Linked DNA regions of Homo sapiens: region 1 is linked to region 2. Evidence: promoter capture Hi-C in human tissues and cell types (Jung and others, 2019). All regions are on one chromosome and are shown on one strand. The core of a region is centred on a gene start or on the middle of the fragment in contact, and the rest is flanking DNA. Distances in the headings are between cores, read along the strand shown.

What was found. Contacts are between HindIII fragments. The study calls those that stand out against the background at their distance.
Region 1: a fragment that was not itself captured here is called in contact with the fragment with the promoter of TMPRSS11F in region 2 in 2 of the 25 tissues and cell types used here (H1 embryonic stem cells and stomach).

What each region holds. Positions count from the first base shown.
Region 1 is chr4:68,031,170-68,035,328 of GRCh38, reverse strand. No RefSeq gene overlaps it. Among named protein-coding and RNA genes, the nearest start is that of TMPRSS11A, 70 kb to the right of the region's middle. The HindIII fragment of the contact is 8,743 bases long and covers 1-4,159 here.
Region 2 is chr4:68,127,439-68,131,939 of GRCh38, reverse strand. It overlaps TMPRSS11F (transmembrane serine protease 11F), which reads left to right and starts at 2,071. Exons shown (of 10, transcript NM_207407.2): 1 at 2,071-2,130. The coding sequence starts at 2,120. The HindIII fragment of the contact is 14,883 bases long and covers 1-4,185 here.

The sequences.
Region 1 (4,159 bases), core at 1,346-3,845, 97 kb after region 2:
AGTGATGGGATCTGATACCTTTTGATGGCCCTTGCAGTGAATGACTCCAGCTTCCTTTGTAAGTAAAGTTTTTATTAAAGAGGCATTAATGATGGAGGACGCTTGTGTAGTGAGGAAACCTCTTTCTGCCCATATAACAGCATGGTGGTGAAAGATACGGAAGGCATATTTGGAGTCAGTATAAATATTGATGCATAGTCCCTTTGCAAGAGTGAGGGCTCAAGTTAAGGCAATGAGTTCGGCTTGCTGACAGGTAGTGGAGGGGGGCAGAGCAGTAGCCTCAATGATAGATGTGGAAGATACTATAGCATAGCCTGCCTTTGCTGGTGAGTGGCAATTAGGCCTGGTGGAACTGCCATCAATAAACCAAGTGTGATCAGGGTGAGGAACAGGAAAGAAGGAAATATGGAGAAGTGAAGTGAATGTCAGGTGGATCAGAGAGATATAGTCATGGGGGTCAGGTGTGGTATCCGGAATAATGTGGGAGGCTGGATTGAAGTCCAGGCCAGGAACAATGGTAATTGTGGGAGACTCAACAAAGAGTGAATATAGCTGAAGGAGCCGGGGAGCAGAAAGTATATGCATCAGGTGTGAGAAAGAAAACAGATTTTGGAAGTTATGAGAACTGTAGAGAATGAGTTGAATATAGTTTGTGATTTTGAGGGCCTTTAAAAGTATTAGGGCAGTGGCAGCTGCTGCATGGAGACATGATGGCCAGCCTAAAACAGTAAGGTCAAGATGTTTGGACAAAAAGGCTACAGGGTGCGGTCCCAGTCCTCGTGTAAGAATTCCCACTGCATAGCCCTGCACTTCCACTGTGTGTAATGAAGAGGGTTGGGATGAGTCAGGAAGAGCTAGTGTGGGAGCAGTCTCTAAAGCTGTCTTCAAGGAATGAAAGGAGGAGTGGGGAAAAGATTTAGGATCTACAGGGTCAGCTAGGTTTCCTTTTGTGAGTTTATATAACGGTTTTGTTAAGATGGCAAAACCAGATATCCAAAGGCAAAAGTATCTAACCATGCCCAGGAAGGAAAGGAGTTGTTTTGTAGAAGGGGTTGGGGTTTGAGACATCAGTCAGACATGATTGGCAGGGAGGGTATGTGTGTTTTTATGAAGAATTATGCCGAGGTAGGTAACAGAGAAGAAATTTGAGCTTTGGAGGGGGATACTGGATATCCCTTGGAGAATAAGTGTTGAAGGAGCAGGAGGTTGTCTTGTTGAGAAGATTCAAAGCAGGAGCTACAAAGTAGAAGGCCATCAATATTTTGAATAAGGTGAGAAGCAGAGGGGTGGAAAGAAAGTAAATTATGAGAAAGAGCTTGGCTGAAGTAATGAGGGCTGTCCCTGAAGCCTTGTGGTAGTACACCCCAGGTAAGCTGCTGGGACTGATGGGTGTCAGGGTTAGTCCAGGTAAAAGCAAAGAGAGGCTGGGACAAGGGGTACAGGGGAATAGTGAAAAAAGCATCTTTAAGATCAAGAATGGAATAGTGAGTTGTGGAGGAAGGTATTGAGGACAAAAGAGTGTATGTGTTAGGCACCACAGGGTGGATAGGCAAAACAATTTAGTTGATAAGGTGCAGATCCTGAACTAACCTGTAAGATTTGTCCAGTTTTTGGACAGGTAAAATGGGGGAATTGTAGGGAGAGTTTATAGGCTTTAAAAGGCCATGCTGTAACAGGCGAGTGATAACAGGCTTTAATCCTTTTAAAGCCTCCTGTGGGATGGATATTGGCATTGGCATTGAGTGGGGTAAGGGTTATTAGGTTTTAATGGGATAGTAATGGGCGTGTGGTTGCCAGGGAGGGAGTAGAGGCATCCCATACCTGTGGATTAAGATGGGGAGATACAAGGGGAGGATGCGAAGGAGGCTTTGAACTGGGGAAAAGAGTGGCAATGAGGTGTGGCTGTAGCCCAGTAATAGTCAGGGAAGCAGATAATTTAGTTAAAATGTCTCGGCCTAATAAGGGAACTGGGCAGGTGGGGATAACTAAAAGGGAGTGCATAAAAGAATGTTGTCCTAGTTGGCACCAGAGTTGGGGAGTTTTAAGAGGTTTAGAAGCCTGGCCATCAATACTCACAACAGTTATGGAGGCAAAGGAAACAGGCCCATGAAAAGAAGGTAATGTGGAGTGGGTAGCCTCTGTATTGATTAAGAAGGGGACGGACTTACCCTCCACTGTAAGAGTTACCTAAAGCATCTTTGATGGTCCAGGAGGCTTCTGAGGTGATCGGGCAGCTTCAGTCTTCAGCTGCTAAGCTGAGAAGATCTGGGAAGGAGTCAGTCAGAGAGTCTTGGGCCAGAGTTCCAGGGGCTCTGGGAGTGGTTGCCAGGTGAGTTGGACAGTCCGATTTCCAGTGGAGTCCCTCATAGATGGGATACAGCTTAGGAGGGATCCCGGGCCACAGGCATTCCTTGGCCCAGTGGCCAGATTTCCAGCACGTGAAGCAAGATCCTGAGGGATGAAGTCCTGAAGGAACACCTGGCCACTGTGGTTTAGGCATTTTGAAGTTCTTGTGTGCTGGAGATGTGGCTAGGCTTTCTCTCAGAGAAGAGGCAAGTAATTGCAACTCTTCTCTATTATTGTACACCTTGAAGGAGAGGTTAAGTCCTGTTGTGGGGTTTGAGGGCCAGAATCTAATTTTTGGAGCTTTATTTAATGTTGGGAGCAGATTGGGTAATAAAATGCATATTTAGAATGAGACGGCCTTCTGACCTTTCAGGGTCTAGGGCTGTAAAGCGTCTCAGGGTTGTTGCCAAATGAGCCATGCACTGGGCTGGGTTTTCATATTTGACGAAAAAAAGCCTAAATGCTAACTGATTTGGGAGAGGTCGGATAAAGAAAAAGGAGCATTAACCTTGACTATGCCTTTAGCTCTAGCCACCATTTTTAAAAGGAAATTGTTGGGAGGTGGGGGAGGGCTAGTCGCGGAACAAAACTGTAAGCCAGACTGGGTGTGGGGAGAGGAGGTGATAGAAGGATTATAGGGTGGAGGAGCGGAAGCTGAGGAAGAATTGGAGCCTGACTCAGCCTGGCGGGGAGTTACCTGAGGAGGAGCAATCTTGGGATGAAGGGAGAGGTCAGATGGGTCGGTAGAAAAGGAAGATTGAAAGCAACGCTTGGGGTTGGGACTGTGGGGACAGGTGGGAGGGAAAGAAGAAAGGTTTGGGATGAGTCGCACTGGGAGCAGAGATTAGGAAGAGACTGATGTGTAAAAGAATGCCTGGACGTCAGGCACCTCAGACCATTTGCCCATTTTATGAGAAGAATTATCTAGATCTTGTAGGATGTAAAAATCAAAAGTGCCATTTTCTGGCTATTTGGAACCATTGTCGAGTTTGTGTTGGGGTTAAGCAGCATTGCAGAAGAAAATAAGGTGTTTAGGTTTTAGGTCAGGTGTGAGTTGAAGAGGTTTTAAGTTCTTGAGAACACAGGCTAAGGGAGAGGATGGAGGAATGGAGGGTGGAAGGTTGCCCATAGTGAAGGAGATAAGCCCAGAGTAAAGAGAGGGTAGAGACACAGAGATAAGGGGTGGGGGGTGCTTGCCCCCCCCCAGGAAAGTGATACTTGCCACTAAGGGTGAAGGATCAAGGCAGGCGTCCCCACAGTGATCAGACACCTCTGAAACGTGGGTGAATAATCAAGCAGGCATCCCCTCAGTCATTAAACACCAAGCGAAGACTGTCTTCCCAAGTCCATGACTGGCGCTGGAGTTTTGGGTTCACAGATAAAACGTGTCTCCTCTGTCTCTACCAGAAAAGGAAAGGGATTGAAATGAAGGGAGAGATTGAAGGGTGACACAGAAATTGAAAGGAGAAAGAAGTTGAGGGATAGTGAGAGAGGTTGGAGAAGAGAGTAAAAAGAAGCCGCTTACCTGATTTAAAATTGGTGAGATGTTCCTTGGGCTGGTTGGTCTGAGGATTCGATGTCGTAGGTGGATCTTTCTCATGGAGCAAATAGCAGGAGGACAGGGGATTGATCTCCCGAGGGAGGTCCCCCGATCTGAGTCACAGCACCAAATGTCATGTGCGTCCATGTGAAGAGACCACCAAACAGGCTTTGTGTGAGCAATAAAGCTTTTTAATCGCCTGGGTGCAGGAGGATGAGTCCAAAAAGAGAGTCAGCAAAGAGAGATAGGGGTGGGGCCATTTTATAAGATTTG
Region 2 (4,501 bases), core at 822-3,321:
GTCCTTTACATTTATTATCCCCTTTAAATTAGAGACAAATATTATCTCCATATTATAGAGGGAGGATCTGAGATGTAGAAAGGTTAAGAACATTCCTATTTTCACAAAGGTAATTCATGCCAGTGCCAGAAACTGAACCCAGTCATCTTATCTAGTAGCCTGGTATACTGTCACCCCACTGTGGTAAAGCTATTATGTCAGAGAAAAAAATGAGTTATTTTACGTAGTCACTGAAAGCTGAAGGAGGGGGAAAATAAAAACCAATAAACACAAACTTTAAAACTATTCAAATAAAAGATCATTTGAAAGAATGGCCAAACAGAAAATATTCCGATGGGAGACAATTAAATCTCTATTTTTGAGCCATTAAACATAAAACAGCTTCTACTGTAATCTCTAACTTTTTAAACATGGTTAAAGTAAATATTGCTGTATCTCCTAAGTTCCCCCCACCATGTCCTGTGATTCAATATGAAAACACTGATTTTCTTGAGAGAATAAATCTATACATACCACATGTTTTAATCCAGAATCCTCAAAGCTGGTTGCTGGACTTGCTTGTAATTACTTGGACATGTTTCTTGTAAAGCCTAATTTCCCTCAGTTAAGCCACAGAGCTTATTGTCTGCTGTATTATTATTTACTAATGTAAGAGGCTGAGAATATATTTATGAATTTTAACAAATAAGGATTATAAAATATTAGTTTATTATTAATGTGAAATGCTTAAATGTAAACATGAAAACCATTTAAAAAGAATATTTACACAATGTTAATTTCAAATTAGCACAAATACTACTACATATACTATATAAAAATGAAAATAATCAGTTATATTTATATACTAAACAAATATAATTTTTCTAGCACCTTTTTATTAGATTTTGGAATTTTTTACTTTTGAAAAAAAGTAATGCTCCAAAGATGAAAGTTACTTTTGCTAAATGAAGTTATAGTTTTCAGTGTGAACTGACTGGTAAATTTTATTAACTACTTATTTAGACATTTTTAGTTCTACTCAAAATTGTATTATCATATGTCTTCTGTCATATTGTTGGTGTTTATACAAACTGACAATCTGTTTCATTTTTTTCATTTGTCAAATGTTTTGGAAAATATAGTTCCTTTTAATACCTTTGCAGAGCATTATAATGAAAGTATTACAATTAGAGGCACATTGCATTTTTAGCATTTTAGATGAAGATATTCTGTACAACCAAAGTAAAAATTTATCATTTTTCTTTAATATCCTTTGACTCTGAGCCTTAATAGCTCTTAAAATTGTAATTTCTATTTTGTAACTTTTCTGATCTTTATAAGAAGTTCATGTATTTATACTAAATTCTCTATAGATATATGAAAGTATTTAAAGGGACGGTTTGTAAATACTGGGAATTCATACCACTAAGATGGACAAAGTTATTCCTAATAATAAGAAAGAAGAAAATACGTTTTTGCTTTTGATATTTACCTTCCTTTTCTGCCTTTTTTGGGGTAAATAAATTGTTTCAATACGTTCTATTATATTTAGAGCTAAAATGGACAGTATTAAGAAAAGCTAATACAGTCCTGCCATTTTCCTTAGGAGGAAAGTAAGTCCCAATAAGCTGAATAATGGCTGAGACAGGTGCCCTGGTTCATAACTCAGGTCTTCTCCACTCCGCTACCCCTTGTTATTCCCTCAAAGGGAAGAGACTGAACATTTCTAATGAACAAATAAGAAGTGCCATCAGTGTGCTCTAGTGTGTTTTGTTTTGTTGGTTTTTTTTTTTTTTTGGAAAGCAAACTGGGGCCACACCTCAATGCTTATCATACTTCCCCAACTGGAAAAGTGTGGTCTTCTGAATCATCACAAGTTGCACATTCTGAGCCCTCTACTACTTGGAGCTTCTCTATGCGGATATTGACAATTACTTCACTGTGTGGAGCCAGTTGGCACAAAACTGATCATGTTCTTGTTCTTATCAGGCTAGAAGACTGCATACCTCACTCACTAAACCTGTCAAACTTGTTTCCTTTCTTGTTGCCAGTGACTGTCATTATTTTGCAGCCTCCAAGTCCTAACCTGCTGATACAGATCAGATGGTGACTGAATAGAAGCTGCCCCAGTCCTGGGTTCATGATGTACGCGTAAGTATTCAGCTTTTCTCAGTAAAGGTTATCAGTGGGGACAGAGGTTTACAATTCCTGAGACAGGTAGTACAGATGTTGGCTGGTGGAGATTGATTTAAACATTAGAGTTTTAATGTGTGTTATTGTATTTTATATTAAAGTTTTATTGTTGTTGTTTTTAAATATCAGAATTTTTTTGAACAACAGAGGCCAATGTGGTGTTTTTTGTTTCTAAATAAAAGAAATAGAAATGATGTGAGGTAATAAGTTAACTATATTAATATTTAAAACATTTAGTAAAACCTACACTTCAAAGAATAAAGTGTTTAATATAGCCCATTTAGTTACTTTTCCATGTTCCATAGCATGGTATACATTTTTATCATATGTTGCTTATTGATGTATATTCTGGGAAAATTAAATATAAATTTAAGAGGAGAGTCTACTAGAATTTTTATTTAACTCTAATAGAAACTATGATAGGTTATTTTGTATATCATGAGTGAAATGATTAAAATTAAAATACTCATATGTAAAAAATTATCAAATTAACAAAATCTAGACTTTGTATCATCATAATTGAACTCCAAAATAATTGATCAATTGTTGAATTTAAGGTAAATAAATTTGTATTATATATTTATGTTTAGGTAATATTCAGGCTATTGTTTTATAGACTTCGAAAGGAATAATTGATATTTGATGGATGATTTCATTCAAACTTGTGCTAAGTCTAGCCTTGTTTCTTAAAAAGGTTCTCGATCTTTCTACAGACACAAATTTCCCACATGTTCTGCACTGACTGATGTTTCCAACTTAATCATGATTTTGTGATAATTTTAATTGTTCAGTCATTTGATTTTGTCTTCAATTAACCTAAATACTTAAAGCCTGTAGGCTCTGGCACTCTTAAATGATGAGTGTTCCTGCCCTCCCTAATTTACTTTCAAATGACAGCATAAGCCTAAGGAAGACTTCCATTTCATGCATAAATCTCCCATATAAACCCATCATGATAGCATGATATAGCATATTATCTGTACTTCTTACTAAATACAACAAAGTATATTTCTTATTTATCAAGATAAAGACAGAATAAGACAAAACGTACAGTAGAAAAAACTTTTATATTTAACTAACATTCATATAAATATAATATGCTAAAAATTTCTTTAAAAAATTAGAAAAATTTGGAGTTCTCTTATTCTAATTTATTTCAGAATTCTTCAGTAAGTGTTTTTTATCAGCCTGATTCTTCTCTTCCCAACTTACGGCATCATCTCCAAACACTCACTTTTCCACCCTGAAAATATCATTACAACATGAAATTTCTATATTGAAGCCTCGTCAGCTTTGATCCAGAGTTTATTAGAGTTCTGAGGATTTTTTGGTTTTATTATTAAGTTGACATATAATAATTCTACGTATTTATGGGGTACATAGCACTATTTCAGTACATGTAATATATAGTGATCAGATCAGAGTAATTAGCATATCCATCATCTCAAACATTTATTATTTGGAGGATTTAAAATATTCTTGCTAATTAGATTTCAAATCAGATCTGCTTTTAAAACAAATATTCTGTCAAAAAATATATCTTGTGTATAAAGATAAGAAGCTTAGACAGTGGATTTATTGAATTCATTAGTAAAGGTATTTTGCCCAAGGGATCTAGTCTCAAAGAATGAATTAGTCAGATAGACTATGGCCTCTTAGCAAAAGCCCTGTCTTTCTCATTTTGGTAAAGTAGAAAGAGTACCATCATTTAGATGTGTTCAAGATCCAACTTTGAACTCTTTTGTCTGGTACTTCTCAAGACCTCACTTTTATCTGTGAAATGTGGGGAAGGTTTATAAGTAAATGAATGAGGGGTGAGGTTGTTACCATTAATGGGCCTTGAAGTAATATTTGTGGATAGCTAAAAGCAATTTTTGGTTTATTGGTTTATTCTTTGGTTTATTTTGGTATTGTTCATTTGTTGTTGGTGTATTTAAATAGTAATAAAATAAGATTTGTATTAATTTTATTTTTTTCTGTATCTTAAGTATTAGTGTAAATATTGTATTATGGATATATGATTCAGATTCAGATTCATATATAGACAGTACACATACAAGTATGTGTACCAGGCCTTGATGTTGAACATTTCTAACCGTGGGTCATGGTCAAAAATATTTTTTAATACACTGGGTTAGATAGCCCTGAAGTCCTTTTGAATGCTTAATTCTATGATTTCAAAGAGTTAATAGCTAGTTAATATGGAGAACACATTAACATTCTTAAGGCACTAGAGAACTATTTAAAGTATCCCACATTGTAGGTTATTCAAGTTTTTTTCATGGGTCCCTGTATTTGGTGCCCTCTGCAAGTGAGGCAGAGATAAGAG